Linked DNA regions of Homo sapiens: region 1 is linked to region 2. Evidence: promoter capture Hi-C in 16 types of primary human blood cells and fetal thymus (Javierre and others, 2016). All regions are on one chromosome and are shown on one strand. Each heading gives the region's core, a stretch centred on a gene start or on the middle of the fragment in contact. The rest is flanking DNA. Distances are from core to core; before and after follow the strand shown.

Region 1 (4,155 bases), core at 1,453-3,952, 870 kb after region 2:
GATGGCTATAGTGCACCCCCTGGGGAGAGGAAGGGAAGGGATCTGTGATGAGCTGGCATTGTCTTCCGTTGTCTCATAGTAAGTGTCTCATCTCCTCAGCCTATGACCTGTTGTGGACTTGCAGTCTGAGGGTTTAAGTCTACCTTGACCAGTTGTGAGTCTGTGTGACCTTCAGCATGCCTCCGCTAGCTCATCTGCGAAATGGGCATGCGTCCTGTCTCAGAGCTGTCCAAGGGCTAAAATAATAACTAACATCAAATGCCTATTATGTACAAGGCTCCCTGATTTTTTCTAATCCTTGTAACAACCCCGAGCAATAATTATTTCCATTGGCACAAAGGAAGATACTGAAGCCCAGGATATTTAGTAATTTACTGGGGGTCACAGAGATAGAAAATAAATGTCCGAATTGGCATGGAAAAGCAGACCTGTATCTCCAACATCCCTTTGCCTCTCAGAGGGATTTGAACATGACAAGGAGGTATCAGTGGGATAGCTTATCATCCCACCTCGTGGTCACCAGTGCAGCCCACCCCGGTGGCATCGAGAATGCAGCGACCCAGCCACTCGTCAGGGCGCGCACTGACGATGTCGTTGCGGCAGCCTTCCAGGTGGGGGCGCAGTTGTTGCAGCAGCATGCGCGACAGCAGCACCCCAAAGCCTCCGTGGCAGTAGCGGCCGGGGGTGGGCTCTCCGCCGATGAAGTCCTGGGGCCGGCCCAGGTACAGGTGGGCGGCGGAGGCCAGGCTGAGGTGGCCAGTTAGGCGTGCCAGGCCGTGCGCCTCGGTGTAGGTGGTGTCAGGCACCAGGAAGAACCAGTCAAAGTCGTCGCCGTGCTGCTCCAGCAGGTGGCGCAGCGCCAGGTGCAGGTGTCCAATGGGTCGCTCCTCGCCTAGCGTCACCACTGCCATGCCAGGTGGGGCCCGGCGGCCCCGTGCGCCCGTCAGGAACACCACACGCTCCAGCCGGTGCCCCAGCGTGCGGTTCACGGCCACGCCCAGCGTGGGCAGCGTGGTCTGAGAGGTCAGCACCGCCACCAGCAGCCTCTGCCTGATGCCCAGCTCCGTGCTGATGTAGCGGGTCCTAGGGGAGGAGATGGCACAAGCTTATCAAAAGGACAACGGGGCGGGGGGTGGGGGGGAGGTGGTCAGCACAGACCCTGGCAGGTCACGTCTTCTCTGTATCTGTTCTCTCACCTATGAATAGGTTAAAAATAAACCCTCTCTCCCAGGGGTCATGAGGATTTAAACGAAATGGTCTTAAACAGGTAGTGCTTTGCATTTGGGAGATGGCAATACCCACCCAGATAGGAGAGAGATATTGTGGGTCTGACTCCGGGGTTCGCTACTTAGTAGTTATGTCCTTGAGCATGTTATTTAACCTGAGCCATCTGTAAAATGGGACTGATTATATCTGTTTAAAGCACCCAGCCAAACGCTGGACACACCATGTATCTACTCATTTCTATATAAATATGCCATTATGCCACAAATGCCTCACATAAATGACATAAAGGAACGTTTGGCATAGGGGTGTACTGAGTGTTTTTGCGGGGAGGGGCAAACTGCACTCAGGGGCTCTAGGAACTTACCTTTTGGTAAGGCAGAAGGTAAATTGCAGAACCAGCATTTGAACCCAATGTTACTTAGAAGTTATTTCAACTCATCAGCAGAGACATTAATGAGATAGGTACATTCCTCCCTCCCCCATCTCACCCTGAGGTGGCCCTTGTAACCCACTCAGGAACAAGAGATCCAGGTAAATCCTAGTTCTCTCCTTTCTCTTCCCCTGTCTCTATACACTCACCCTATATATAAGTCATTTCTCTAACACCAGCAGCCCAGCCAGGGAGCTAGTAGGATCTCTGGGGCGCCATCGGGTCGAGCCGGTTTAGGACACAGTCCAGTAAGTTCAGCCCAGGCCGGGATAGGGCCCAGAGAAAGTCTCGGACTGGCCCCACGGCTCTCGGGAAGGCAGGGCCATCGGAAGTTATCGGGGCCCAAAGACTTCCTGGCTCGCCAGCCCCTTCCTTCCGGAGCCTGACCCGGGCCCGGGCGACCTCCCCGCGCGCTTCCCGGCCGCTGCCCAGGGGGTAGAGCGGGCGCAGCCGATCACTACCTGACGGCCTTTTTGGCGGCCTGGCCGGGCTGTGCAGGGTGGTAGGGCAAGACGCGCGGCTCCCAATTCTCCCCGGCGCCTTCGCCGGCCCCGGGCTTCTCGCGCTCCGCTCCGGGCTGCACCGAGTTGGGCCGGCGCGCCGCGTTGGTGTTGCCGCGCGGCGGCAGCTCAGAGTCTCCAGGTTGGGGCGGGCCTGGGCCGCACGGCTCCTCCACCCAGGTGACGCTGAGCAGGCTCAGGGTGAAGCCCAGGGAGATGCCCACGGCCACGGGCCCTGCGGGCCGCAGCACCGACAGCAGCAGCGATGCCCGCATGGCGCCCGGACCGCGGGTCCCCGGCCCCGGCGAACCCCCAGAGCAGCCAGAGGAGTCTCCGAGGGGGCGGGACCGGGGAGGGGGCGGATCCGGAGGGCTCGGGCCCCGCGGGCGGGCCCGCTCCCTCCCCGCAGAGCAGAGCCAGCGGCCCGAGCCGAATCCCCGGAGCCGCGCCTCGATTCCCCTCCAGCAGCTGCTCTGGGCTGCGCAGGGTTCTTGCGCTCGGCACTGGAGCCTCAGCCGCGGCCGCAGCTGTCCGACGTGTCACTGCAAGGGCCCCGCCCCCGGGGTGGGGTCTCGGGCTCTCGCTACCGGAGAGGGAGGAGAAGGGGGAGGTTAAAGGGGAAGGACCCCCGGAAGTGCCCCCTCCTCAGTGCGGGAGAGGGAGACGCCGGGGGCGGAGTCCCCTGCCTCCCGCGGCGTGGTTGGTGCGTCCCATGTGACGTCAGAAGCAGCCCGCCCCTGCCTGGATGGTGCGCCCTGAGTGACGTCAGGAGCAGAGGCCGGAGCTGTCCATCAGCACCAAAGGCCGCGGGCGGGCTCAGGGCATGGGGCCGCGGTTCTGGGGCGGCCCGAGCCCCGGCTCCTGCGCCTTCCCCTTCCTCAGGCCCAGCCCGAGTTCCCGGACGCCGCGGGACTGGAGTGCCAGCCGGTGTTGGACGTGGAGCGGCGCCGCCACCGCGCCGACACCATTCTCTCCGGCCCAGCAGCCCCCTTCCTCGCACGACGGACTTTCCCTGGACCCCAGTCAGTTGGAGCCTCTGGCGCCCCGCAACCCCGGCCCCTCGGGCCTCTGCACAGCCTCTTTCACTCAGAAGCTCAGGTCGCCTCCAGCCCAGGTAAATCTTGGACAATCCCATATTGAGCCGCCCACAGATGAATCTCTTGGCTGCCTCCTTCTCACTGGCAGCACGCTCCCTTCATCCCCCCGACTCCCGTCCCTCTTTTAACTTCATCCCAGCCTCCACTAGCCAGGCACTTTTGTTTCCCTTTGTCTTTGCTCCCCACTCCAGAGATGCTTCCGGAGCTGCACAAATGTGGATACTATTCCTTTGTCCACTGTCCTTGCTGAGTTCTCCCAATCCCTCTCCCACCCCCATCCTGGTGGGGACCCAGGACTCCTCCGTGACCCCAACTTTCCCTCTGTCAGGTTAACTTGGGAGGGTGACTCCCTTCTATTCCCAGCACTATGCCGGGGACTGTGGCAACACTGCGGTTCCAGCTGCTGCCCCCTGAGCCAGATGATGCCTTCTGGGGTGCACCTTGTGAACAGCCCCTGGAGCGCAGGTACCAGGCACTGCCGGCCCTCGTCTGCATCATGTGCTGTTTGTTTGGAGTCGTCTACTGCTTCTTCGGTGAGATCCCCATCTCATCCCTCACCTGGGCTCCCCAGTGTTTCCCCGAGTTCTTTTTCTGGGCCCCCAAGTCTTCTCTGAATCCCTCTACCATCATGAATAATTCTTCCTTTTCTTTCATCCCACACATTTATAGATTGTCTAGACTCTAGATTATAGGAAAAACAGGTTTTTGGATTAGGCACACCTGAGTGTGAATTTACTTAGCTTTGCAGTTACTAATTGTGATGTCTTGGGCACATTAATCTGTCTGAGCCTCAGTTTTCTCATCTGAACAATGATCACAATATTTGTCTCATGTAGTGTTGTAAGAATTAGTAAGCATTCAATAAATTGTAGCTATTGTGAGGATGTGTTTGGCTAACTGT
Region 2 (4,278 bases), core at 1,613-4,112:
CACCAGTCACCCTAAGCCTTCTTAAAGGAGATAGCAACCTCAACACAACATATTTAGGGTGGTATAAAGGCTGTGTTGTAATGGAAGAGCCAGCAGCCTCGGAGTTAGTTAACAGGTACCAATCACTTACAAGCTATGCAATCTGGGACGTGACCTCTCTGTAAGCTTAAGTTATCCTGTCTGTCACATATAGATAATAACACCTACTCTCTAGGGTTATTGTGAGGATAAAAGGTGATTTGTTTACATAAAGTACCTAATAGTATCTGGGCTATCGTAGCTAGTCTACGTCCTCTTTTTTTCCTGTCTGTATATAACCTTCTCCCTTAGAAGGAAAGAGGGAAGGAAGGAGGTAATAGAGTACTCTGGATGTATTTATGACCTGGCTGTCTGGTTGATCTAGATCAGCCTGTTGAGGTTAGGATCCATGGTTCTGATGTAAATCAAGGGACACACATACTTAAGCATAGAAACAGCAGTTGTAATGAAATTGAAGCTGAGTGATCAGTTTGTGTCTACAGCTCTACCAAGTGATACATGGAAAAATGCACACTTTGCTTTCTCACACTGCTCCCTCTTCATTCTAAGAGTAAGGCTGCCCCAGCACGACCTATGTCAGTGTTGTTAAGTCTTAGGCAGAAACTTCAAAATATAAAATATAAAGCTTCACACCTCACAGATAACAGTGTAGTTCTGGCTGACATGGGAGTGGGAGTCTCACAGTACTACAGGCTGCTGCACTCATTGTTGCTGTCTCCATGGCTCAAGGTGTCTCCCCTGAATCTTAAAAGTTCCCCTGAACAGGTAAACTGTAAGTTATCCCAGCGCTTTGGGAGGCTGAGGTGGGAGGATCACTTGAGGCCAGGAGTTCGAGACCAGCCTGGGCAACAAAGCGAGACACTATCTCTACAAAAAATAAAAAATTAACTGGACACGGTGGTCCCAGCTACTTGGGAGACTGAGGCAGAAGAATCACGGGAGCCCAGGAGGTCGAGGCTGTAGTGAGCCATGATCTTGCCACTGTACTCCAGCCTGGGTGACAAAGTAAGACTCTGTCTCTTAAAAAAAAAAAAAAAAAAGAAGTTTCCCTGAACACTTTGAAAACCAGTAGTCTAGATACTCTTAATAACGGCCAGTACTAGCTGGGCTCCCTGAACCAATGTAACATTGAGGTGTAGCCTCAGTCAAGTGGCCCTTCAATACTTCGCCCACCCTAGTTATATGGGTCCTGGATGGGATGGTGGTAAGGTGGTGACAACAAAATGGGGGAGGGGGGCCGGGCGCGGTGGCTCAGGCCTGTAATCCCAGCACTTTGGGAGGCTGAGGCGGGTGGATCATGAAGTCAGGAGATAGAGACCATCCTGGCTAACAGGGTGAAACCCCGTCTCTACTAAAAATCACAAAAAATTAGCTGGGTGTGGTGGCGGGCGCCTGTAGTCCCAGCTACTCGGGAGGCTGAGGCAGGAGAATGGCATGAACCCGGGAGGCGGAGCTTGCAGTGAACCGAGATTGCGCCACTGCACTCCAGCCTGGGCGACAGAGCAAGACTCCGTCTCAAAAAAAAAAAAAAAAAAAAAAAAAATTGGGGGAGTGGGGACTGAAGAATGTCCTAGTACAAAGAATCTAAGGTGTGGAGTCAGACAGATATGGATTTCTATTCATAATTTTCTATCTTTTGGCAAATCACTTTACTTCTTTGGGACTCATCTAGTCTTCCCAGGTGCCTGCACCTCAGTTATTAATGAAAAGGAGGCCGGGTGTGGTGGCTCACGCCTGTAATTCCAGCACCTTGGGAGGCTGAGGTGGGAGGATCACTTGAACCCAGGGGTTCAAGACCAGTCTGGCCAACATGGCAAAACTCCGTCTCTACAAAAAATACAAAAATTAGCCAGGCATGGTGGCACACACCTGTAGTCTCAGCTACTCGGAAGGCTGAGGCAGAAGGATCACCTGAGCCTGGGGAGGTCGAGGCTGCAGTGAGCCGTAATCGCACCACCGCACTCCAGCGTGGGCGAGAGTGAGACTCTGTCTCAAAAAACAAAACAAAACAAAACAAAAAACAGACTTAAGTATATTACAAATCCGTCGTGATCCTCTCAACTATTCTGAGGTAAATGCCACACCCACTTTTTTTTTTTACAGCTGAGGACACTGACTCACAGAAGCTAGATGGCCTGTTCAGCATCACACAGCTAATAAAATGTGGAGTTAACCCACATTGATCCTACTTCCAAATCCCAGAGTCCTTCCATGTTCTAGTCTTTGGTTAAGAATGCTTGAGAGAAGGACTAGAGGGACTTTATATGAAGTGTAAAGCTTTATTCATACAATAGTCCTCACTAGTGCTGTGTGAGAGAGAGAAGGCTGAGGAAAGCGTCGGCGGAAAAAGGCTGATCCAAGGGGAAAGGGGGCCGGAACTGGAGGGCACTGGTTCTGAGAGGAGAAAGGGAGATGGGGAGGTCTGATGGGCAGGCATCCCCCAAAGCCCCTGAGAAAATTCATTTGAGGAGGAGAGAAAGGGATGGCGTGAAGCTGGAGGAAAAGGGATCGAACCGGATGCGGCGAGGCCTGAACTGGCCTGGCGGGCGCCGACCCGTTCTCCTCTCACTCAGATCAGCGCCCCTCCACCCTCCCGTTCCCCAGTCCAGCTTTCCCAGAGATGTCAGCATCTCTGCCATCCCTCATCCCTCGCTCCACCCCACACGCCCGCCGTACGGACCGTCTGCGACAGCTGCTAGGCCTCTGGACTAGATCCAGGCTGTCAGCCAAAGCCCATGCCCCCAAAGTTACCAGTCCTCCTCCCCTGCAGCTGCAGACGCAGACGCCGCCATATCTTCACCGGCCCGCAGCCGGAACCGGAAATGCCCTTAGGGAAGTCGGAGGCGGAAAACTAAGAGGGGTGGGCAGCTAGCGTCGTTTCTAGGCAACCGCAGACTCCGGGTCCTTAGCCGGGCCTGATGGCCCTGAGGCAGTTCGGATGTGTCCCAGGAAGTGCCCATGTGTGGTCCGCCGTCCATTCCACACCTCTGAGCGCCTTTGTCCTCTGAACTTCTCACCAGTTCTAGCGAGTAAAATTGTAAGAAAGGGAGCCGAAAGAGACCGGAGGGAGAGGCGGGTGGAGAAGAATTATAAGTCAGGCAACGTATGCAGGCAGCCAGAAGAGATGGGGCTAAACGCCAGGGAATCCGTCCCTTGGCCTGAGGAGCTTGGAGCTCCTAGGCTGGGGGTGAGAGAGGGGCTCTGGCCTGCGAAGCGCACGGGCCAGGGGGTCTGAGAGCGGGTGCTGAGGAGTCTGGGAGTGGCAGGAACTTGGGGGAGACTCAAAGGAGCAGGGTTGGTTGGGCGAGGCTAGGTTGAAAGAGTAGGGTCGAGTGAGCCAGGCTGGGTGAGGGAGAAGGGGAACCAGGTGTTAGTTGGGCATGGGGCCGGGTTGGGGACAGGAGGATGAAAGTGGGGAGGAACTACAAAGAGAAGCTCTGTTTGTTCCAAGAGCGCATCATCTTTGCATGCATTCCACCCTCCCATGTTTTTTGAGGCTTTATTGTGAAAAAGAGGAAAAGGCAAGGTGGCTAACATTTTTCCTTTCCCGTGCCCCAACTAGGCGTCCCAGATGTTGTGGAACTGTCCCTGGATCTATAGCTCTTCACCGTCTCTACTTTCTTCCTTCTAAGAGATCCTGAAACCTCTGTCATGGAAAAGTACCACGTGTTGGAGATGATTGGAGAAGGCTCTTTTGGGAGGGTGTACAAGGGTCGAAGAAAATACAGTGCTCAGGTGTTGCACAAAGAGGGATACCTTTTGGGTGGGATTTGGTACCCCCAACTCCAGTGGAAAATGGATCTAGAAGGAATGTATTTATACCAGTTTGTATTCCTAAGGTACTGACTCCCTCATACTTCTTATGGAGTATAAGCTTTGAAGTTGGATTATTTGGGTGCAAATTCCATCTCCACCGCTTTCTAGCCCTAGAATTATGGACAAATTACTTAACTTCCCTATGTCTCAATTTCCTTATCTCTAGAATGGGGATAAGAACAGCAACTGATTGATGGAGTTTGAGGATTAAATATGTTTTCACATTAAATCACTTAGTACAGTGCCTGGCTGTTAGTAAACAACAAATATTATTAGTCTCTAGCACACCATGTAATAAGAGGTAAACCACTTGAACTCTATTATTTCCTCTTCATTTTTTTTTTCCTTTCCTTTCTCCTAAATCTCATCTTGAGTGCTGGTCAAATCAGAACACTTCTTCCAGAAGGGGAAATGTTTTGCAGA

What was found. The method cuts DNA at HindIII sites, captures the fragments that hold promoters and counts their contacts. A CHiCAGO score of 5 or more calls a contact.
Region 1: the fragment with the promoter of CHPF here is called in contact with the fragment with the promoter of RNF25 in region 2 in 2 of 17 cell types (total CD8 T cells and naive CD8 T cells); the score reaches 6.4 in total CD8 T cells.

The regions. Positions count from the first base shown.
Region 1 is chr2:219,541,107-219,545,261 of GRCh38, forward strand. It overlaps CHPF (chondroitin polymerizing factor), which reads right to left and starts at 2,703. Exons shown (of 4, transcript NM_024536.6): 1 at 2,119-2,703; 2 at 510-1,083; 3 at 1-19. The coding sequence starts at 2,432. It overlaps TMEM198 (transmembrane protein 198), which reads left to right and starts at 2,922. Exons shown (of 5, transcript NM_001005209.3): 1 at 2,922-3,271; 2 at 3,583-3,787. The coding sequence starts at 3,622. RefSeq lists silencers at 2,135-2,224, 2,235-2,944, 2,985-3,124. The HindIII fragment of the contact is 11,388 bases long and covers 1,104-4,155 here.
Region 2 is chr2:218,669,140-218,673,417 of GRCh38, forward strand. It overlaps RNF25 (ring finger protein 25), which reads right to left and starts at 2,863. Exons shown (of 10, transcript NM_022453.3): 1 at 2,791-2,863. The coding sequence starts at 2,831. It overlaps STK36 (serine/threonine kinase 36), which reads left to right and starts at 2,947. Exons shown (of 27, transcript NM_015690.5): 1 at 2,947-3,076; 2 at 3,602-3,774. The coding sequence starts at 3,691. RefSeq lists an enhancer at 2,768-2,867. The HindIII fragment of the contact is 1,597 bases long and covers 2,315-3,911 here.